2 separate regions of the Homo sapiens genome follow, and region 1 is linked to region 2. Evidence: promoter capture Hi-C in 16 types of primary human blood cells and fetal thymus (Javierre and others, 2016). All regions are on one chromosome and are shown on one strand. Each heading gives the region's core, a stretch centred on a gene start or on the middle of the fragment in contact. The rest is flanking DNA. Distances are from core to core; before and after follow the strand shown. Region 1 holds the start of RPRD2 (regulation of nuclear pre-mRNA domain containing 2). Region 2 holds the start of C1orf56 (chromosome 1 open reading frame 56).

Region 1 (5,460 bases), core at 1,736-4,235, 680 kb before region 2:
CTCCTGCCTCAGCCTCCTGAGTAGCTGGGATTACAGGCATGTGCCACTGCGCCCGGCTAATTTTTTGTAATTTTAGTAGAGAGGGGGTTTCGCCACATTGGTCAGGCTGGTCTTTAATTCTTGACCTTGTGATCCACCCCACTTGGCCTCCCAAAGTGCTGGGATTACAGGTGTGAGCCACCGCACCTGGCCCTGTATTTTTAGTAGAGATGGGGTTTCACCATGTTGGTCAGGCTGGCCAGTTTCTAACTCTTGACCTCGGGCGATCCACCGGCCTCGGCCTCCCAAAGTGCTGGGATTACAGGCATGAGCCACCGCGCCCGGCCTTAGGTTGATGATTTCTTACAAAAGTAAACATATTCTTACCATATGATGTAACAATTGTGCTCCTTCGTGTTTACCCAAGGAGTTGAAAATATATTCACCCCAAAAGCTGTACAGAGATGTTTGTAACAGCTTTATTCATACTTGCAAAAATGTGGAAGCAACCAAGATGTCCTTCAGGTGAATGGATAAATAAAACTGGCACATCTGGACAGTGAAATATTATTCAGCACTAAAATGAAATGAGCTATCAAGCCATGAAAAGACATGGAAGAAACTGAAATGCATTTTTTTTTTTTTTGAGGTGGAATCTCATTCTGTTGCCCAGGCTGGAGTGCAGTGGCCTGATCTTGGCTCACTGCAACCTCCGCCTCCCAGGTTCAAGTGATTCTCCTGCCTCACCCTCCGGAGTAGCTGGGACTACAGGCGTGCGCCACCATGCACGGCTAATTTTTGTATTTTTAGTAGAGACGGGGGTTTCACTATGTTGGCCAGGCTGGTCTCGAACTCCTGACCTCGTGATCCACCCACCTCGGCCTCCCAAAGTGCTGGGATTACAGGCATGAGCCACCGTGCCCCGCCTGAAATGCATATTATTAAGTGAAAAAAGCCAGTCTGAAAAGGCTACATACTGAATGATTTCACCTATATGACATTCGGGAAAAGGCAAAACTATGAAGACAGTAAAAAGATTAGTAGTCGCTAGGGGAATAAGGGGGAGGGAAGGATGAATAGGTGGAACACAGAGGTTTTTAGAGCAGTGATACTGCTCTGTATGATACTGTAATGGTGGATACATGCACATTTGTCCAAACTCAAGGTATAACACCAAGAGCGAACCCTAATGTAAACTATGGGCTTTGGGTGATAATGTGTCAGTGTAGGTTTGTCAGTTGTAACAGATGTATCGTTCTGGTGCGTGACATTGATAATGGGGGAGGGTATTCATGTGTGGGGGCAGGTGGTATATGGAATTCCTTGTGCTTTCCACACAATTGCCGTGAATCTAAAACTGCTCTAAAAATAGTCTATAAAAAAGTGGGTCTTTGGCTAGAGTTACAGAAAAAAAAAAAATGTGGGGTCAGGACCAGGCATGGCGGCTCAAGCTTATAATCCCAGCACTTCGGGAGGCTGAAAGCAGGAGGACTGCTTGAGGCTAGGAGTTTGAGACCAGCCTGGGCAACATAGGGAGACTCCCCCTCTCAAAAAAATGTTGTTGTTGTTGTTTTGTTTTTTTAGCTAGGTGTGGTGGTGCAGGCCTGTAGTCCCAGCTACTTGTGCTGCTGAGGCAGGAGGACCACTTGAGTCTGGGGGATTGAGGCTGCTGTGCGATATGATAGTGCCACTGCACTCTAGCCTTGGCAGGGACAGAGCGAGACTGTATTTTAGAGCCTTTGCACTTGCTGTTCCTAATGCCAGCATGTTCCGCTCCCCGTCTCGCATATCTGCTTGGTTGCTTTTTTCTCAATGTTCAGATCGAGTTATTTCTTTCGAGAAGACTTCCTGGTTCACCATACCACCATTCTTATACTGGCGCGTGCGTGCCGTGCACACGTACACACACGCGCGCACACACACACACCCCTTTCTCCCTTACCCTGCTTCACCTTTTTACAGAATTTAATACTGTCTGAAATGTACTTGTTGGTGGTGTCCTGCCACTAAATCCCGGAGGGAACGGATTTTTGTCTGTTTTGCTCCCCATGATCTAAAACAGTACTTGGCACAAGAGGTTCAACAACTCGTTGAATTAATGAATAGTGGACATGAACTTGACAAAACAGGTTCCCTGCCTCAAGAGGCATGGCCGCAGTGAGGAGACGTTAAAAGAATTAAAACTGTATATGTTTAGTGGGAACACAGGAGCCTTTAAATTAGCTCAGAGGATTTACATAGATACCTGCGATAAAATGGTTCGTATAAGGTTCATATAATAGTTACGTAAGACTCTTGAAAACTGTAATGTATTATGCAATTTTAAGATTGTATCATAGCTGGCGAAAATGAGGTCACATCTTGCCATTCTTTTTTCGCCTCGAAAAATTTTATGAGGAAAATTTCCTTTCACTTCCTCATTTATTTCCTTTTCCTGTAACCTAAATGGTCAAGCGGCTGTGAATGTTATCTTCTATGGGCAGCAATAAATACGGTTTGGTGTCGGAGTCTGCGTAGTGAATGGCTCACTGGATCTGGCGCATGCGCATCTTTTGTGGTGCCGCAAGATGGCTGCCAGCCATTTTGTCGCGCGTTGCTCCTCCGAGGAGTTGGGGGCGATGGCTGCAGCCCCCTGAAGACTAACAGTGGTCTCAGTGGTGGGAATTTTCTGTCTCTGTTGTGTGAGCTGAACACACCCAAGAGAGCGGCCAAAAGCAGCAAAGGGCGGGGCAGGGGAACCCCCCCACCCGGCTAACCTTAGTTATACCAGCTCCCTCACCCATCCCTCCCAGTTTTTCCTTCCATCCCGTTACACGCTTATCTTCTGCGCAGGCGCAAAAATAATCGTAGCGCCTCCTGGGCCCTGGGGGCTTCAGAGCTCCTGCGCGCGCTTGTGGTTCTCCACTCCTGATTGGTCAGGTTGCCCCGCCATCACGCCTCCCTCTGCTTTCAAGGTTGAGAAGGAAGCAGGGGTAGGGGGGTGGGGCCAAGTGGCGCGTGCGCGATACTGTTGCTGCCCCTTTGCTGCTATTGCGTTGCAAAAAAAATCCTGACTAGGTAGCCTTGGACCTTTTCTGTGCTAGCGAGTCTAAAGGAAAGAAAGATTTCTGCAACTGAAGGGGCAGTCGGGTAGTATTACATTTAAGATATTAACGCCCGACCTGGCTCACAGGAGTGTGGGAACAGGGGCGGGGAAGGGCCTTAGCACTGAGAGCCGAAAAGTATAAAACGATTAGTTTCGGCGTCAGGCGTTTTGAAAGGCTTTGCAGGTCCTGTTTTCTGCGTAATTTTTCCGTGATTACTGACTGGTTTAAACACGACCCCTTGAACAATATTGATAAAACCTCCGAGACCCGCAGCCCCTCCTTGCAGCGTGTAGGAGCTGCCAGCGTGCCCAGCAGCTGGTGTTCCCGTCCGTACCTCCAGAAGAGCCCAGCGCGTGCACCATCCCCACCCCCTAGCTTCCCTCCCCACCTACGGCTTTCACGCACTCGCAGTGATTGTTTTGCCCGCTCCCGCCGCCGCCGCCGCCGCCGCCGCCAGAGGAGCAGCAGCGCTTGTGCAAACCGGGAAGATGGCGGCCGGCGGCGGCGGAGGCAGCAGTAAGGCCTCCTCCTCGTCGGCCTCTTCGGCAGGGGCTCTGGAGTCCTCGTTGGATCGAAAATTCCAGTCGGTAACCAACACCATGGAGTCCATTCAAGGCTTGTCGTCTTGGTGTATAGAGAACAAAAAACACCACAGTACTATCGTCTATCATTGGATGAAGTGGCTCCGGAGATGTGAGTGTTGGGGGTGACTAGGGAAGGGAAGACTGGGGAAATGGAAGGAAGTGTGGCCTGAAACGCTTGGGGTTTTCCCACGGAGCCGCAGCATTTGGTTGGGGTTGTTCACATTAAAGGTTTGACCCCAGTGGTCCCAAACCCAGACTCCATTCCTAGCCAGGATTGTCCTGAATTGCAGGAGACTCATTTCTTGGGTTTTTTAGCCATTGAATTGTTGTGACCTTGGGCCGTTGGGCCCAGATCCATGGAGATTTACGTATATTGTTTTTAATATTTCAGAGCCTTGTAAGGTGTATTGATTTTTCCGAACCTTCGCGGAAATTGTAGCGTCTGTTTATTTCTTACAGGCCTTGACGTGTTAATGATTTCTGGCTTTCCTGATGGTAGGCGAGCTGTGGTTTTAAGCAGTAGTAAATCCAGTGATGTTTAATGAGGAGTGCCTTGTCTGGATGAATGTATCTAAAACTTGTGATGTGTAGTAAGGAGAGCCTTACCTGGATGAATGTTAAGAAGCAGCATGAGCTCTACATAGATCTGAGGCACCACCGGGTTTTCCCTGTACCTGTGTTTGCTGCAATAAAATACAGGTTTCTTGGATACTGACCAGAAACAACTGCGATACAGTAGTCAGTATCATCGTTAATACCTTCAAATATAAAGCGTGTCCAGTTCCTCTTTTTTTTTGAGACGGAGTTTTGCTCTTGTCGCCCAGGCTGGAGTGCAGTGGCGCGATCTCGGCTCACTGCAACCTCCACCTCCCGGGTTCAAGCGATTCTCCTGTCTCAGCCTCGCGAGTAGTCGGGATTACAGGCGCCCGCCACCATGTCCGGCTAATTATTTGTATTTTTAGTAGAGACGGGGTTTCATCATTGTGGCCTGGCTGGTCTCGAACTCCCGACCTCAGGTGATCCACCTGCCTCGGCCTCCCAAAGTGCAGGGATTACAGACGTGAGCCCCCCGTGCCCGGCCCCGTTACTTTTTAATTACCTGAAATACCTTTTTACACAATTGAGTTGATCTCATGGGTAATGTGCACAGGAAATGTGCTTTTTGAATATGTAGTACCTTTTTCTCCAGTTATGTTTTTTTTGTCTTTATCCTGGAGATTTTTCCATTTTGCTGCTTTACTGCAGAAACGAGCTCTGTTAAAGCATGGATTGTTTGCAGAACGTTTCAAATCTTATAGGAGGAAGTGTGGAGAAGTTACTGTTTCCTGCTGAGAAGAGAGGGTTAACTCATACTCCATATACATCTATTAGAATTTTTCTTTGCTTCCTGCCTGCGGCATTTCACCAGTGAGACCCATCATCCAGTTATTCTGCCTTATTCCACTTCTGCCATTGCTCCTGTAGTGTTTTGATTTGTTTACCTTTTAGAGAACAGATAGATAAAACTTGCAAAATTATAGGCCCCATGCTTCGAACTATTTGTGTTTAAAGTTTTGGGAGGGATGTTTTGTGGTTCTTTGAATAATAATGCAGAGAAATTAGTAGATACCGGACAGAATTACCTGTGTTTACCAATAACCGATCAAAGAGTTATTTTCTTGCCCAGAGGTAAAATTATAACGTGCAAAAACATCAAATATGATAACAGTCATCATTGAAGACTCACATGTTAAGTATCTGCTATGTGCCCAGTCATCTCATTGTACCTTAAAATCGTCTGAGAAGTAGATTTTTTAATCACTGATTTACAA
Region 2 (5,723 bases), core at 53-2,552:
TAGAAATTAGGAAGAGATGTGTTGGCAGTGAACAGATGATATCCAGTGGGGGAGAGGGTGTTAGGGAGCAAAAGTGCTAAATGATGACTCAACCCAATCATCTAGCTCTTCCAATTCACCTGGCTTCTCTCCCCAAACCAGAAAATAAAACCCAAGTCCTACCCCCTGAACCACTTCTCTCCTCCCCCTCTCCCTCTCCTAGGCTGGACCGGGATCTCCATGGCTCAGGAGGGACATAGCACAGGACTGGATAAAAGGCCTTAGAACCAGTTAGTGATCTGCCTACACCTGAATCCCTGAAACATCTGAACTGTTTTGTAAATCATCTTATCCCCAACCTCAGTACCACCGGATCTTCACTTCTCAGTGGGATTTTGTCCTTTGCATGACCCTACTTTCAGCAGGGCTTTGAGGCTGGGAAACTGATCTGCTGGGTGACTTTCATTCCAGTTGCTGGGACGGAAGGCTGAATGTAGGGTCATTTTGTATGGGATATGCAGAGCTCTGGGTTTTTTTGTTTTTTGTTTTTTGAGACGGAGTCTCGCTCTGTCGCCAGGCTGGAGTGCAGTGGTGCGATCTCGGCTCACTGCAACCTCCGCCTCCCGGTTCAAGCCATTCTTCTGCCTCAGCCTCAGCGAGTAGCTGAGACTACCGGCGCACGCCACCACGCCCAGCTAATTGTTTTGTATTTTTAGTAGAGACGGGGTTTCACCATGTTGGCCAGGATGGTCTCGATCTCTTGACCTCGTGATCTGCCCGCCTCGGCCTCCCAAAGTGCCGAGATTACAGGTGTGAGCCACCGCGCTCGGCCAGAGCTCTGGGTTTTAATCCTACTTTAGCTGTAGAACCTTGGGCAAATAACTTCATCTTTTTGGGTCCTAATTTTCCTCCTGTCTAACTGGAGGGACTGTGATCCTTCCACCTTGGATGGAAGAGGCTTACCTGACAGCCAGCCTGCCTGCTGGGAGCCAGGAGAGTCAGCTCATTAAATCTTGAAGAACCGCTGTATGCCCTTTTTCCTTCTAAGTCATGTCTGCTGCCTGTGAGCCTGGGAAGGAGTGCTTTCAAAACCTGTATTTTTGCCCTCTTTAGTAAATTTAGAACTGTAGAGGCTAATAAACTGCGATGAGACATTTAAGCTCTGCTCCAAAGAAGTGAACGACTCTTTCACCACCCCTTGCATCCCAAACCTTCGGTTCTGGCAGAGTTCTTGCCGCAGAGGTTCCTTAGGAGCACCCCGCGCGGCCCGCGCGAGCGCGCCTGCGCGTCGAACCCCACCCCCTTCCCCGCGGGCCTCGGTTCAAACGACCCGGTGGGTCTACAGCGGAAGGGAGGGAGCGAAGGTAGGAGGCAGGGCTTGCCTCACTGGCCACCCTCCCAACCCCAAGAGCCCAGCCCCATGGTCCCCGCCGCCGGCGCGCTGCTGTGGGTCCTGCTGCTGAATCTGGGTCCCCGGGCGGCGGGGGCCCAAGGCCTGACCCAGACTCCGACCGAAATGCAGCGGGTCAGTTTACGCTTTGGGGGCCCCATGACCCGCAGCTACCGGAGCACCGCCCGGACTGGTCTTCCCCGGAAGACAAGGATAATCCTAGAGGACGAGAATGATGCCATGGCCGACGCCGACCGCCTGGCTGGACCAGCGGCTGCCGAGCTCTTGGCCGCCACGGTGTCCACCGGCTTTAGCCGGTCGTCCGCCATTAACGAGGAGGATGGGTCTTCAGAAGAGGGGGTTGTGATTAATGCCGGAAAGGATAGCACCAGCAGAGAGCTTCCCAGTGCGACTCCCAATACAGCGGGGAGTTCCAGCACGAGGTTTATAGCCAATAGTCAGGAGCCTGAAATCAGGCTGACTTCAAGCCTGCCGCGCTCCCCCGGGAGGTCTACTGAGGACCTGCCAGGCTCGCAGGCCACCCTGAGCCAGTGGTCCACACCTGGGTCTACCCCGAGCCGGTGGCCGTCACCCTCACCCACAGCCATGCCATCTCCTGAGGATCTGCGGCTGGTGCTGATGCCCTGGGGCCCGTGGCACTGCCACTGCAAGTCGGGCACCATGAGCCGGAGCCGGTCTGGGAAGCTGCACGGCCTTTCCGGGCGCCTTCGAGTTGGGGCGCTGAGCCAGCTCCGCACGGAGCACAAGCCTTGCACCTATCAACAATGTCCCTGCAACCGACTTCGGGAAGAGTGCCCCCTGGACACAAGTCTCTGTACTGACACCAACTGTGCCTCTCAGAGCACCACCAGTACCAGGACCACCACTACCCCCTTCCCCACCATCCACCTCAGAAGCAGTCCCAGCCTGCCACCCGCCAGCCCCTGCCCAGCCCTGGCTTTTTGGAAACGGGTCAGGATTGGCCTGGAGGATATTTGGAATAGCCTCTCTTCAGTGTTCACAGAGATGCAACCAGTAAGTGTTTGGTGATGAGCCAGGGTCTTTGTTGACGGATCTGAAAAGTCCTGGTATCTAAAACCCAGTTGCTAAGCCAGCCAGTGTTGCTTACATGAACTGTTACTGACTTACCTGGTTATTGATTCATAACATGCATTGGTTATTCACATTGTTAGCCATTGATTCCACCTATTATTTATTGAGCAACTACTGGTTGGTCATTAGGTAAAATGTCTTACTGCTCATTAGGTGATTATTGACCAAATAGTTAAGATTGGAAATATTTTTTTTTTTCAAGACAAGAGTTTCACTCTTATTGCCGAGGCTGGAGTGCAATGGCGTGATCCTGGCTCACTGCAACCTCTGCCTCCCAGGTTCAAACAATTCTCCTGCCTCAGCCTCTTGAGTAGCTGGGATTACAGGCACCCACCACCATGCCCGGCTAATTTTTTTTTTTTTTTTAGAAGAGACAGCATTTTACCATGTTGGCCAGGCTGGTCTAGAACTCCTGACCTCAAGTGATCCACCCGCCTCGGCCTCCCAAAGTGCTGGGATTATAGGCATGAGCCACCATGCCTGGTCTTGGAAATTCTCTGTTTTTTTCACAGACAAGATCTCGCTATGTTGCCCAGGCTGGTCTTAAACTCCTGGGCTCAAGCAATTCTCCTGCCTCAGCCTTCCAAAGTGCTGGGATTACAGGCATGAGCTACTGTGCCCCTGACCATAAGACTTTTTTTTCGAGACAGGGTCTCTCATCACTCAGGCTGGAGTGTGGTGGCGCAGTCACAACTCACTGCACCCTCCATCTTCTGGGCTCAAGCAATCCTCCCACCTTAGCCTGCTGAATAGCTGGGACTACAGACGTGCACCACCATGCCTGGCTAACAAGATCTCGCTATGTTGCCCAGGCTGGTCTCCAACTCCTGAGCTCAAGGATCTGCCCACCTTGGCCTTCCAGAATTCTGGGATTACAGACATGAGCCACTGTGCCCGGCCCATAAAGTCTTTTTGATGCACAGATAATTAACAGATATGAAGGATCTTAATCAATTAATAGTTTTGACCTAATACAGCTTAACAGCAACAAGTGCCAAAATTTGAGGTCTTACTATGTGCACTTTACCTGAATCGATCCTCACATCCTATGAGGTATTATTATCCCTGCTTTTCAGATGAAGAAACTGAGGTTTACAAAGCTAGTAAGTGGCAGAGCCACGAGATTTAAACCAGGTTTGACACCAGTGCCCACTCTCTTCACCACTACCATTTGGGAGTACTGTCCTTCCAGGACAAGGAAGGATAGTCCTCTGCTTTTCCCAGAATTAGCAAAGGTTCTGATTGACTTGATAAGGTAGTCTCAATTGATACGGATGATAGGACTTTGAGGAGGGAAAGGTAATAAAGCTTACACTTGGTCATTTTGCTTGTTTCTGTTTTTCTCCTTGTGTGTCCAATACCATTATTGCATACAAAAATAAGTAAGGGGTGGGCAGTAGGGTTGAGGGAATATGGGTTTGTGGGAGGGGGAGATGAAGCAAGGAAGGGAAAAGAATATAGATGTGGTTGTAATTTCCCTTTTTCTCTATTTTTTTTTCTTACGCAGATAGACAGAAACCAGAGGTAATGGCCACTTCATCCACATGAGGAGATGTCAGTATCTCAACCTCTCTTGCCCTTTCAATCCTAGCACCCACTAGATATTTTTAGTACAGAAAAACAAAACTGGAAAACACATTGTTTGGTCTTGTGTTTCTTTACAGAGGTACCTGAGGGAGGAGAGACATAAATCCCTTCATCCCTAAGACTGAACTATGTAACTAGCAGCCTCTGGCTTGTTTTCTACTCCCTGTCCCTCAGGATAAAATGTTGATATTGCTCATTTTCCTCATTTCCAACATTGTTTTAAAACAAGTACTTCTTTTACAGGCTTGAAAAATCTCAAATAAACGCTAAGAAAAGGGAGTAGGAAGAACAAGGAGTTGAGCCCTTGAAAGATGACAGTGGTCTTCTTGCCTTCATGCTTGGCCCTCTCTCCTCAAAAGGGCAATGTTGGTACAAAATTCCATCTCAGCCACTTTCGAGGAGTTATCTTCATTAGCTATATCCATCCTTTAATCCAACACACACCTGCAATGATTACTGTGCAACTATTTTGCTTAATTTTTTATTTGAAAAAATGTATTTAAAAGTCCAACAACTTTTTAATATAAATTACGACTCTCAAACCCATTCCCATCACTTTATTAGTGATGGTAGCATACATATTAGAGAAGGTAGCTAAAGGCAAGAGAGCACCAAAGGAAAAAGACTGTCCAAAGAACAGGTATTAGAATGAGGCCGAAGATCACGGTGACCAGAGATTTCTAGGAGTCTCTAACCTTTCCACCCTATCCTGTTAACCCTTTAGATCTCTAGTATAACACTCAGGCTACTGAGGTATTTTAGAGCAACAAGCTGGGTTACTTTCAGAGCAACCAGCTTGACTGGAACTGAGAGTAAATTGGGAATGTATGACCAATCTTAGACCCTGAAAAATGGCAGAAAATACATGGAAATTTGAAAAAAAAAAAAAAAAAAAAAAAAAAAGAACCTCAGTCACTGTTCTGTAGGGATAAGCAAACTGAATGGGTGGTGGAATTGGCAGAATGGATACCAGTTCCTACATTCCTGACCCCACTACCATAAAACAGGATGTTTCCTGTTGCAAAGCTAATGAGACCCCACCCTTCTTGTCTCAGAGCAGGCAGGAGCTCATCTGTCTTGTTCTGCCTTCCTAATTACCCTGGAAGGGCCAGAACGAAGAACACCTGAGAATACTGAAAGTGCCTAAAAACCCCTGCTCCTACGTTGTTTTCCCATTTAAAGCAGACTCTTCAGCCAGGGGGCAGTGGGACCTGGTCTTCAGACAAAACTCCCTGAGTCTAATGTGTGTCTAGGACTAGGGCACAGAAATAGAGCTTAAAATTTGGGGAGGATAAGGAGTGTATCTACTGCTTCTCTCTCCCCTTTCCCCAATCCTACCATACCCTGTTCATATCTCTACACTGCAGGAACCACTTCTCCAGAGGGCAAGAATGGAGGAGGGGGACCTGTCCATCATAGCAACATGCAAACACAAGCAAAACACTGAATAAAGAATTGTTTGGAGATTATGTGCAGCCCTACTGAGCCTCATTTATATGGGCTCCTAGTTGATCCATGGCTCGGGCTTAAGATGAGTAAGATGATGAGGGTAGCGTGCCAAGCAGAAATCACTTCAGAGAAAAATATCTTGACTTTAGAGTTGTGGTTCTCAAATGGAGGCGATTTTGCCCCCTAGGAGAAATCTGGCAATGTA

What was found. Contacts are between HindIII fragments. The CHiCAGO score rates a contact against its expected background, and 5 or more counts as called.
Region 1: the fragment with the promoter of RPRD2 here is called in contact with the fragment with the promoter of C1orf56 in region 2 in 1 of 17 cell types (fetal thymus); the score reaches 5.1 in fetal thymus.

What each region holds. Positions count from the first base shown.
Region 1 is chr1:150,361,162-150,366,621 of GRCh38, forward strand. RPRD2 (regulation of nuclear pre-mRNA domain containing 2) reads left to right here and starts at 2,986. Exons shown (of 11, transcript NM_015203.5): 1 at 2,986-3,758. The coding sequence starts at 3,554. RefSeq lists enhancers at 1,281-2,223, 2,204-2,273, 2,434-2,743, 3,494-3,773, 4,257-4,546. The HindIII fragment of the contact is 10,239 bases long and covers 1,429-5,460 here.
Region 2 is chr1:151,046,449-151,052,171 of GRCh38, forward strand. It overlaps C1orf56 (chromosome 1 open reading frame 56), which reads left to right and starts at 1,303. Exons shown (of 2, transcript NM_017860.5): 1 at 1,303-2,404; 2 at 3,990-4,972. The coding sequence starts at 1,400. The coding sequence ends at 4,010. BNIPL (BCL2 interacting protein like) reads left to right here. Exons shown (of 10, transcript NM_138278.4): 10 at 203-1,272. The coding sequence ends at 239. CDC42SE1 (CDC42 small effector 1) reads right to left here. Exons shown (of 5, transcript NM_020239.4): 5 at 4,537-5,723. RefSeq lists enhancers at 1,631-1,680, 1,961-2,200. The HindIII fragment of the contact is 9,026 bases long and covers 1-3,788 here.